Linked DNA regions of Homo sapiens: regions 1 and 2 are each linked to region 3. The links are contacts of gene promoters, found by promoter capture Hi-C in blood cells and fetal thymus (Javierre and others, 2016). All regions are on one chromosome and are shown on one strand. Each heading gives the region's core, a stretch centred on a gene start or on the middle of the fragment in contact. The rest is flanking DNA. Distances are from core to core; before and after follow the strand shown. Region 1 has its middle 16 kb from the start of ZNF397. Region 2 has its middle 39 kb from the start of ZNF397. Region 3 holds the start of ZNF396 (zinc finger protein 396).

Region 1 (4,003 bases), core at 680-3,179, 150 kb before region 3:
CTGCATCACTTATTGAATAAGGAATCCTTTCCCCATTGCTTGCTTTTGTCAGATTTGTCAGAGATCAGATAGTTGCAGGTATGTGGTCTTATTTCTGGGATCTCTATTCTGTTCCATTGGTCTATGTGTCTGTTTTTGTACCAGTACCATGCTGGTTTTGGTTACTATAGCCTTATGATATAGATTCAAGTTGAATAGTGTGATGCCTCCAGGTTTTTTCTTTTTGCTTAGGATTGCCTTGGCTATCCAGGCTCTGTTTTTGTTCCATATGAATTGTAAAATAGTTTTCTCTAGATCTGGGAAGAATGTCAATAGTGGTTTAATAGTAATAGCATTGAATCTATAAATTGCTTTGGGCAATATGACTGTTTTAATAAAATTGATTCTACCTATCCATGATCATGGGATGATTTTCCATTTGTTTGCGTCTTCTGTGTTTTCTTTGAGCAGTGTTTTGTAGTTCTCCTTGTAGAGATCTTTCACCTCCCTAGTTAGCCGTGTTACTATGTATTTTATTTCTTTTGTGGCAATTGTGAATGGGAGTTCATTCCTGATTTGGTCCTTGGCTTAACTATTGTTGGTGTATGGGGATGCTAGTGACTTTTGCACATTAATTTTGTATCCTGAGACTTTTTGCTGACATTGTTATTATTAAAAAAAATCAAAAGATAACGGATGCTGGTGAGGCTGTGGAGAAAGGGGATAGCTTATACACTGTTGGCGGGAGTGTAAATTAGTTCAGCCATTGTGGAAGACAGTGTGGTGATTCCTCAAAGACATAAAGACAAAAATACCATTCAATCAGCAATCCCATTACTGGGATCCCATTATACCCAAAGGAATATAAATCATTCTACCATAAAGACACATGCATGTGTATGTTTTTGCAGCACTATTCACAATAGCAAAGACATGAAACCAAGTCAAATGCCCATCAATGACAGATTGGATAAAGAAAATGTGGTACATATATACCATGGAATACTATGCATCCACAAAAGAGAACAAAATCATGTCCTTTGCTGGGACATGGATGGAGCTGGAGGCCATTATCCTTAGCAAACTAACACAGGAACAAAAAAACCAAATACCACATGTTCTCAGTTATAAGTGGAAGCTAAATGATGAGAACACATGGACACATAGTGGAGAACAACACAAACAGGGGCCTTTTGGAGGGTGAAGGGTAGGAGAAGGGAGAAGATCTTAAAAAATAACTAATGAGTACTAGGCTTAATATCTGGGTGATAATCTGTATGACAAACCTCCATGACACAAGTTTACCTTTGTAACAAATCACTTGTACCCCTGAACTTAAAAGTCAAAATAATAAAATAAATAAAAAAGAAAAAAAAATAAAAGAAAAACCGTTCTGTGAGTACTAAGTGATTACTCTTATATTTCTGTTTTTCCTGTGTTGTAGAGCTGGGCAAGATCAATCCTTCTTTCAATCTTTGATTATTTGCATGATCTAGTGCATGTCCAAATTATACAACTATTATCCAGAGCCTACATGACTAATAAAATGTTTTCAGCATTTCTCCATCACATCTTAGAAAACATTGTCCTTCAGGATAAACACAAAAGGACTAGACACTGAGTATGCCAAGGTGCAGGCACAAGCAGGCTTATCATCTGACTTTATTCACACCTTACCTTAATGATCAAAATATGCCTTCCAAAGCACAGGATGCTTACAACCCCTTGTTATTCATCAAACAAAAATAAATGAAAACCATATTAATGTTTAATAGCTCAAAAGACAATTAGGAAAAGTGGCACATGTATAGCCAGACAAATCCAGAGGAAAAGAATAAAACATGAAGCCAAGAAATAAGTCAAGCGCATATGGGGAGTTAGTATATGAAAAGGTTGTCATCTGAAATTAATGGGGGGAACGATGAACTATTTAATAAATGGCATTGTAATAATTAGATAGCCACCTAGAAAAATATATATGTTACACCCACATTCTACATCAGGACAAATTCTAAATGGATCAAATATTTAGATGTGAAAATATAACAATAAAATTCTAGAAGAAAATATAATTTTTTTTATAATCTTGAAGTAAGAAAGACTTTTCTAACCATGACACAAAATGAAGAACCCATAGAAGAAACAAATAATAAAATTCACTATGTGAAAATCAAGAAGTTCTGCATGGTAAAAACAAAAACAAATCCAAAAACTGAAAAAAAAAAAGAGGAAAAAATACTCATATAACACAATAACAGGTCAATAATCTTCTTTTGAAATGCATATGGTTATTTCTTATAACGTTGCTTATAACAGTGAAACATTGGAAACAACCTAAATTTTCATCACTAGGAGGCTGATTGAATAAATTATGGTTTAATAAATTATATGTTATAGAATATTAGGCAATTGTAAAAAAACTGAGAAAGCTCTTTAAGTAAATAATATGGAAAGATCTTTAGGTATATTATTAGCTTTCTAAAAAGCAAAGTGAAAACCGGGTGTATAGTATGCTACCTTTTGAGTAAAAGGGGTAGAATAAGGAAACGTATTTTTTCATTGCTTCTGCAGACATAAAGAAACTCTGGAATGACTTATAATAAACCAATTATGCTGGCTATCCAGAGGGTAGGCAGGTAAGTGGGAAATGAATAGGTAATTACAATTTTTCATCTTATACCTTTTGCAATTTTTTGAACCATTAAAAAATTTATCTGTTCAAAAATTGGATTACAACAACATTTAAGCAGATGAGAAAATGTTATTTTATTCATTTTAACCTCCACTAAAAAATATCCCAAGAGATTCTTTTTTAGACTGAAAATATTCTGGAAAACACCTTCTAATCGGAGACCAGGAGACTTAAGATACTACAAAAAGCCCCTGGATTAAAATGCTGAAAGATGACTTCCCATTCAGCTGTCTAAGAAATTAGTTAAAATTTACTTTAAAATACGAACAATGGGCTTGGCGCAGTGGCTCATGCCATAATCCCAGCACTTTGGGAAGTTGAGGTGGAAAGATTGCTTGAGCTCCGGAGTTCAAGACCAGTCTGGGCAACATGTCAAGTCTCCGACTCTACAAAAAATACAAAAATTAGCCAGGTGTGGGGGCACATACCTTCAATCCCAGATACTTGGGAGGCTGAAGCAGGAGAATCCTTGAGCCCAGAAGGCGAAAGCTGCAGTGAGCCATGATTGTGCCACTACACTCTGGGTGACAGAGCCAGGCCTTGTCTAAAAAACTAATAATGGTAAAGTAAAATAAAATAAAACATGAACATCGTATAATTTTTTGCAAATCTTAAAGGTATTAACAATTGAACCATATAAAATTCTGAGACCTAGCAATGCCATACTATATTAAAGGAACATAAAACATAAGAAAAAGATAACAATGAAGGTAAGCAATTGTAGGAGAGGAGAAAAAGGCTTTGCAGTAGACAGGTGAATAGTAGAAAAATATCAAAGATCTGCAGTTCATTACAGGAGTAACTAAAGTTTGAGAAAAATATTCCAGCAGGTCATTATATGTGTGTACTCTGTGTGTGTGTGCTTGTTTATTTGTTTATTTATTTATTTATTTATTTTATTCATTCCAAACTGGCAACTTTTCCTTTCATTTTAAATACACAATTTAAAAGCAGGAGGGAACTGTATTCCCAAAACTTATAGACCTACAGAAATAAAAATTGACTTAGAGGCCAGGAGCCCTGGCTCATGCCTGTAATCCCAGTGTTACTGGTGGAGGGTGTCCAGATTCTTGGCGTCTTGAACAAAGAATTGGACAAAATGCACAAACAAAGCAAGGAAAGAATGAATCGACAAAAGCAGAGATTTATTGAAAACAAAAGTACACTCCACAGGGCAGGAATGGGCCTGAGCATAGGGGCTTAAGAGCCCCAGTTAAATAATTTTCTGGGGCTTAAATACCCTGTAGAAATTTCCTGTTGGTGACTTGATGTACACCCTATGTAAATGAACCAGTCCTAGTGGTTGCAGAAAGCAGCCAATCAAAGGCTGAA
Region 2 (4,083 bases), core at 581-3,080, 180 kb before region 3:
CTCACAACCTGACACTTAGCTTTTCTACTCCTAGGCAAACAGGGGGCAATGTACATCTAGTGCTAATTAAATTAAATACCCAAATACTGGGTTTTCAACAAACACAAACAAATTCAGAAGAGTGAACTATACTACTTTACTTGGAATATCAATGACAGCCTAAGTAACAGAAGAATAAACCTGGATAACAGTGGATGGTAACTACATAGTATAACTATTGGCCAATTTGGAGAATTTGGAACATAATCAATGAAACAATATCAATATTTACCATCCTAATTTTAAGTGACCTCCAAAAAACAACATGATGTTACATAATCCCTTTTTACTCTTTATAAATTATGAGAAATTCTTAAATTATGTTTTCTGTAAATTGTTAGCAGAAACATGATTTTCCCTGAGTCTTGCTGCTTGGTATAGATCATAACCCTAAGGAAAAAAGGAGCCTCCAGTGTTGTCCTTCTCTGGTGGGAAGTTAAATAAGACAGTGCTCAGGAAGGGAACATCGTATGCACAGACATTTGTTCTCTCAACACAGAACTAGACTGAGATCTCCTCACATGCTTCTATCTATGGAATCTAGAATGAAAAAGAATTTTAAAAAGAAGTCGAACTCGAGAATGTTTAAAAGAATTCTACTTCGTGGATTTTTACAGTCAATACAAAATAGTCTTATGGTTCTTTCAGCATATATACTTAAATTCAGCCTATTAAAATAGTATAATATGAATTAAACTTATTAACCAAAATTAAGAGTACATGGTGCTAAAACGATTGGTTGATTCAGTGGCAGTATTTATAAGTACACTATAAACAATTCCCCAACTGGCAATCATCTTTAGAAACTTTAAATTTTTGATGTGGCTCAAGTCTGACTCTAAGCTTTTGGGTTTTCCATCTTAAAAAGCTCCCCTCCCTTACTCCCACATTGCCGCCCACTACATTATAGAAACATTCTCATATAGCTTTATTTGTTACATTTATATCTTTATTGCATCCCACTCGTCTGTATTTGAACAAGCATTGCAAAAAGATACACAGCAGACTGTTAACTTTGGTTATCTAGACTTTGCCTTTATACTGTATAACTGGATCTGTTATAATATATATATGTATTGCTTAATAAAGAAAGAAAACAGGCTGGGTGCAGTGGCTCACGCCTGTAATCCCAGCAATTCGGGAGGCCGAAGCTAGAAGATCGCTTGAGCTCAGGAGTTCTAGACCAGCCTGGACAACATGGCGAAACCTCATCTCTACAAAAAATACAAAAAATAGCCGGGCATGGTGGTGTACACCTGTAGTCCCAGCTACTATGGAGGCTGAGGTGGGAGGTTCACTTGAGCTCAAGAGGTGGAGATTGCAGTGAGCCATGATTGTGCCACTGCACTCTAGCCTGGGCAACAAAGAGAGACCCTGTCTCAAAAAAAAAAAAAAGCAAGTAAGAAAAGAAATGAGAAGAAAAGAAAGAAAAAACAAAACCAAAAAACAATACTGTCTAGCTCTAAAAAACTATAAATGTAAACATTACCATGTTCACCGCCAAAATGAGAAAAAGAATAACATAAAACAATTCACTGGGGAATATTCAAATGTAAAAGCCAAATATTAATCCAGATTCTAAATAACCAGTCCTTGTAAACTATAGAATAGTAACTTTTTTCTTTTCCCTCAAATGATTTAACCAAATGGAACAATAAATAAACCCATATTCCATGCCAGATAAAATTAAACTGTGGTTCACCTAAAGATCAAGCTTAGGCTAATTAGTAAAAGGGGCCAGACCAGACGGTGATAACCAGCCCGACGGAAAGAGAAGCACATGATTAAGCAAACAGATGGCCACTTGCAATTTAATGAGCAGACACTTTGATTTGGTTTGATGGCCCAACTAGGGAAGGCCTTTAGCTTAAGCTTTTCCCTTGAGAGCGCTGTATGGCTGGACTCCAGTGATTTGTTCAGGTTTGAGCCCTTTTCCTCCCAGAAATGGCTTCCACAATTCATAAAAAGCTTACTGTTTATATCAAACAAGCACAGACCAGGGCTCCACACTCCTTTAGATGGCATGCTAACTTACTCTTCACTTCTGGCCTCCGGAAAAAGCCCAGTGGAAGGAAAAAAAAAATGCTTTTTCATCTTCCAGTGATCTTGTTTAAAAAAAAAAAGATTCCACAAAACTATATCTTACTTAAATCATTTCAAGACCCACCTTAAGTCAGTGTTAGCAAAAATTTGTTGACAGCCATATGAAGGTAGAATCAGGCCACGGGATAAGGCCCAAGGATAGAAGTGGATGAATTCAGGAGAGAGAAACAAGGTACAGATTTAAGAAGGGGCCAGAAACATGCCTTCATGTATTTCTTAATTTTGTTTAAAATGAGCACATCCTGTACCATTTATGATCAGCTCCAAAAGGTCTTCCCTGGAGCGAACTGTCCATACAAATAAAAAAATGCCTGTTTATTAAATTGCAAGTGGCTATCATATATAATAGAAATTCCAAACAAAGTCATAGATATTTCTGACAAGGTATAAGCAGAATATATACACCTTTTTAAGTATACTTTTTAATATACTTTTTAAGTATATTCTCTTTCATGTAAACATTTATAAAAACCAGGTGAAGAAACAAATGTGTAGAAAAGGAATTATGGCTCAGTCCAGCTATGAATTTTTCAAGGGGTTGCAGCTCAAAAAGTATTTAAATAAATAAAAACTGGTGGTTTTTAAAGTTAGTCTGAAGTTACTGCCATAGTCTCTTGGGTTTTGTTTTTGTTTTTGTTTTCTAGATTTATATATATACAAAGCTAGGGAATGTAAAGAATATAATACATATTATAATATATAATATAATATATAATAAAATATATATTGTATTCTTTTTCTAGCTTTATATATGTACATGTGTTACATATTTATATATGAACATATATAAAGCTAGAAAAGGAATATATATTTAACTGTATATATAAAATAAATATATGAAATAATATAATACATACATAATATATATTTAATCATACACATATATATATTTCTCTGTATTAATTCCCCTTAAAAACCAAAATTTTCCAAATTATTTCTCCCAGAGTCAATATCCTTTTCATTCACAGCAAGTTCTAAGTTGAAGACTTACAAATTAACACTCAAACATTTTTTTCCCAAATAACTTCACAAACATGTTAAACAGGAAAAGGAAGTTAGAGTTAGGAATTGTGAGGCTATAAGAATTTTTCTTTCCTAAAGGATTGGATATGACTGCCAACAATTCCGTGGTTTTAGCTGCTTTCAAAAAAAGGAATGTGATAATAGCTCCTGGGTGGAATAATTTTGGCTGCACTTGATTAAATCTAAGCTTAAAACTTACAGAGAACAGCTTGGACTGCATTTCTTTTTTTTTTTTTTTAAGAAACAGCATTGCATTTCATTTTACTGTGTCTTTGCCAGATTTGGGCCTTTGGGGAGTCTGGCACTAGATTAGACACTAACAAAGCGAGCTGTAATACCCTGGGTAATATGAGTTACATAACTCCAATCAACACTAATGAGTGTGTGTCTCTCTAAAACCCTGCACGTGTAATTTTGGAAAGGAGTCCTAAATGATTTTAAGGCCCCTTCCTTTCACAAAGCGCTATCTTATTCAGCTCCCAGAAAGTAATCATTCCAAAAAGCACTAGGCATACCCAGCTGGTATTTTTGTTTGTATTCTATTGTCTTTTTCTTTTGGTAAATAAATCATCTTCATTCCCTAGAAAAGCATCTACATTTTGCATCCAATATCTTAAACTTTGTTCTTGACATTTTTCTGGTGACTTCAAGACACATGATTTTAACACCACCAGTGAGAATTTTCGAATACTTGAAAAAAATCAACTATATATTAGAGAGCTCCTCAACTCTTTGTTTTTCAAATTCTAATACAAATAATATTCAATACTAAATATTGTTCTATTAGTTTCTGGGTCCAGTACAAGATGGATTCCTCCCCACTCCTTCTGCTAAGTATGGCTAGAATCTCTGGATATTATATATTAAATACACATAAAAAGACTCTGAAAGGTAGAACAAAAAAAAGCAGCCTGTCTA
Region 3 (3,904 bases), core at 950-3,449:
AAAAAAAAATAAACCAATCAGCTGGGCACTGTGCTTATGCCTGAAATCCCAGCACTTTGGGAAGCCGAGGTGGGAGATGGGAGGATCACCTGAGCCCAGGAGTTTGGGACCAGCCTGTGCAACATAATGGGACCCCATCTCTACCCCACCAAAAAAAAAAAAAAAAGAAAAAACAACAAAAAAGGCAATCACGTTCCTTCATCTGAATGTATTTCTATTTTTTTCCATATCCATATTACTTACTTAACTATTTTAAAATACTTAGGTTGTTTCTAATTTCACTATTATAATTAATGCTGGGAGGCACATCTTTATGAATATACTGTTTTTCTCCTTTCAAAGTATTTCTTTCAAGCATGTCCCAAGGCCTCTGCTTGTTGAGGATCAAAGGAGAAGAGCAAATTCTGTCTTGCTATGTATTATCAAAATATTGCACAAAGACTGTATCAATTCACAATACCATCACAATCATAGTGACTTGTGAGGGCAACGATTTCTTCAAGTATTATTAGCTCGTTAGCAACAAAGTTGGGGGGGGACGGCACTTTCCTTTGTATCATTTTACTGTTAAGTATCACCAGTAACTAATCTCATTTTGTTGTTGTTGTTGTTTTGTTTTGTTTGAGACAGAGTCTGGCCCTGTTGCCCAGGCTGGAGTACAATGGCGGGATCTTGGCTCACTGCAACCTCTGCCTTCTGGGTTCAAGCGATTCTCCTGCCTCAGCCTCCCAAGTAGCTGGGATTGCAGACGTGTACCACCACGCCCGGCTAATTTTTATAATTTTAGTAGAGACGGGGTTTCACCATGTTGGCCAGGCTGGTCTCGAACTCCTGACCTCAGGTGATCCCTCTGCCTCGGCCTCCCAAAATGCTGGGAGTACAGGCGTGAGGCTCTGCACCCGGTCTAATCATATTTTTTAAATTGGGCAGGAGGTATATGATAGTGTTTGTACAACTTCAGCAAATGATGACTACTTTAAAAATCTTACGTGCGCCTCCGTCTTCCATCGTTATGTATCCTGCCATTTGACTTATTTTCTCACTTCACCAAGTATTGTTCTAGGCCCTGTATAAAGCCTGTGAGTTCATAAAGTTGTTACCAAATAAATGATACAACTTTACACAATGATGTGCTATGAAACAAACAATAGCAGACACACATATTAACAGAATTTACTATGTGCCAAGCACTGTTTTGAACACCTTAGTAAAAATAAACAAAGGTTAAATCCTCATAAAAGCCCTAGATTATTTTTACCCCCATGTTGTAGACGGGGAAGCAGTCACAGCAAAGCCAGGTACTCTGGCCAAGGGCAAAGCTGGGGTCTGAACCCAGGCCGTCCACATTTATCCATGGTGCTGTGTGGTTAGAGGCCATAGGCAGCAGGGGCCCTTGTGGTGACCCCTGCGCGTTGTCTCAGCGCAGAGGAGGAAGTGGCGGCAGGCAGCCGCGCTCCCAGATGAAGCGGGGCCAGAAGAGTCTGGGGAACAAGACCTGAGAGGTGGGAAGGGTTGAGGCCACCGGTTTGGAGCCGTCAGGTACCCTAAGGGATATATGAGGGACCCCGGGGCTAAAGCAGCCTCTGGAAGAGAGTGGCCGCCCTGTCACTTCAGCACCAGGCGCAGAATCTGTGCTAAACCTGAGGTGAGGGTAAGGAACCCCCGACACCGCACGACAACCAGAAAGAACGTCCCTGGAGGGGAGGCTTCGATCAAAGCCTGGGACGCAGGGGTCTTTCTGCAGGGGACGCCGCTCTCGGCTCTACCCTGCTGTGGTGGGCCGGCTCTGGGAGGGCTGGCTTCCGACCATCTCCCGACCTCCCGCGCCCACCGCGCCGCGCCGCGCGCCTCCCAGGCTGGGAACCGCCGGGGCGAAGCGGCAGGTGGCGCGGGTTCACCTGGCAGGGCAGGCGCCCGGGGTCCGCCGGGGAAGGACGAGGGGAAGGGGTGCGCGGACTCAGGGGCAGGCAGCGGAGGGGAGGGGCCTGGGGATCTGGGACGGTGTAAGGGTGCTGCACTTGCGCGCGAAGGGAGGGGTGGCGACGAGTCCGCGGCCGCCTCTCCGCGTCCCCCTTCCACCACCCGGGGACCACCGCCTCTGACCGCAGCCTGGGGGCCCTAAAGAGGCCTCGGGTCTCACCTCCCGACGCCGTCGGGGAGAAACCGGGGAACTGCCAGCTGCGCAACAACTTCCGGTTCTGGTGGCGGGTCGGGGCGGGGCCCGGAACGCGGGGACGTTGCCATGGAGAAGAGCCGCTGTGGCCGCGCACTTGGGACAGGGAAAGAGAACCGGGAGGCTCGACCGGTGGGAATCCAGCTGCTCTGCTCAGTGTTCCGTTCAATAAACTAGCATTGTTGCTTCGCAAAGTGCTTTTGCTTACATTATTCATTTACTCCGGTAACTCAGTAAGGTTATTCCCATTTTACAGAAAATAAACTCAAATGTCCTGTGACTTGCCAAGGATTACAGAGAGGGGCGAATGCTGTGCTGTCTACCGCTGAGTACAATCCCTAATACCATTCCCACTCCCGAAGTGGTTACACCCCAAGTACTGACGTTTTAAGGGACAAGTTTGACATCCGCAACCCCATGCTTTCACAGGAGAACACAATGGCCCTTGAAAAAGTGAGAACTGACCCACATAAAATTTGTTACAATACATACACATATCTCTCCTCAGATAATCTTAATCTCAATTGAAAAATAAGTTTGAGGCCGGGCGCGGTGGCTCATGCCTGTAATCCCAGCACTTTGGGAGGTCGAGATGGGCAGATCACATGAGCCAAGGAGTTCGAGACCAGCCTGGCCAACATGGCTAAACCGCATCTCTACAAAACATACAGAAATTAGCCGAGTGTAGAGACGCATGCCTGTAGTCCCCGCTTCTTGGGAGGCTGAGGGGTGAGGATCACCTCAATCTGGGGAGGTGGAGACTGCAGTTAGCCATGATTGCGCCACTGCCCTCCAGCCTGGGCTGCAAAGTGAGAGCGTCTCAAAAAATAAATAAATAAATAAATTTAAGCCTAAATGCACCACAGCCCCACCTCGTGACTTCCTTCTCTAGCCCCTTTCCCTAGGGACTCCTGGAAAATGTACTTGTACTCGTAACTGAGGAATTAGGGAGAGGACGGAGATGCTTGAAAAGCACTTGCTAATTAATAAAGAACAATAACAAAAAATCCCTTTTGGTATGACGCCGCCCCAAAAGTATGTTAGTACTGGAATCTGAAGTGAAGAAAGAAGAGGCTGGTTTACTCAGTTTATGACGCTAGGGGACTAGGGAGAGGTTTGGATCCCAATTAGAGTACAGTAAAACTAAATCTGAAGAAATTCTTGCTTCAAACAAGGGGCTTTCACAGGATAAGACTTTTTGCTGATGCAGCTGCCAACACAAATAGCAAACAGCCCAAAAGTGCAGGTGGGAATGTGTTTCTGGCGCTGGTGGGTAGGGTAGGTTAAATGACTCACGTCAGGGGAGAATTTGAAACGAGGGCAAGGCTTGGCAGTGGTGTGAAGTCACAGGAGACAATTTAAGGAGAATATGAACGACAGTCAGAAGCTTCAAGGAGAAGGAGGAACTGTGGGATGTGGCAAGAGGTCAGGGATGATGAATTCATGGGTATGGTCCACCAAACAGCCAGATATCAGAGGCCAAAGTTAAAAACAGCAACAACAAAAAAGGGAGCAGACATAAAAGATTGATTAGAAAAGTTTCACAGTCAGGTAGTTAGAGCAAGAACAGGTTTTTGTTTGCTGTTTTAATTTTTTAAAAATTTTGGGGGTAAAGTGAAAAGAAATTAGCAGGAATAAGGTCCCAGTAGGGTGAGCACCTACTATATACCAGTTGTATCGTAAACACCGGGAATTCAATGGTAAAATATAGATTCTTGCCCTTTAGGGGCT

What was found. The method cuts DNA at HindIII sites, captures the fragments that hold promoters and counts their contacts. A CHiCAGO score of 5 or more calls a contact.
Region 1: a contact is called between a fragment that was not itself captured here and the fragment with the promoter of ZNF396 in region 3, in 2 of 17 cell types (neutrophils and total B cells). The highest score is 6.1, in neutrophils.
Region 2: a fragment that was not itself captured here is called in contact with the fragment with the promoter of ZNF396 in region 3 in 1 of 17 cell types (total B cells); the score reaches 5.4 in total B cells.

What each region holds. Positions count from the first base shown.
Region 1 is chr18:35,223,357-35,227,359 of GRCh38, forward strand. No RefSeq gene overlaps it. Among named protein-coding and RNA genes, the nearest start is that of ZNF397, 16 kb to the right of the region's middle. The HindIII fragment of the contact is 5,659 bases long and covers 1-4,003 here.
Region 2 is chr18:35,199,875-35,203,957 of GRCh38, forward strand. No RefSeq gene overlaps it. Among named protein-coding and RNA genes, the nearest start is that of ZNF397, 39 kb to the right of the region's middle. The HindIII fragment of the contact is 158 bases long and covers 1,752-1,909 here.
Region 3 is chr18:35,375,138-35,379,041 of GRCh38, forward strand. It overlaps ZNF396 (zinc finger protein 396), which reads right to left and starts at 2,200. Exons shown (of 4, transcript NM_001322286.2): 1 at 2,141-2,200. RefSeq lists silencers at 1,716-1,905, 1,916-1,985. The HindIII fragment of the contact is 6,702 bases long and covers 1-3,558 here.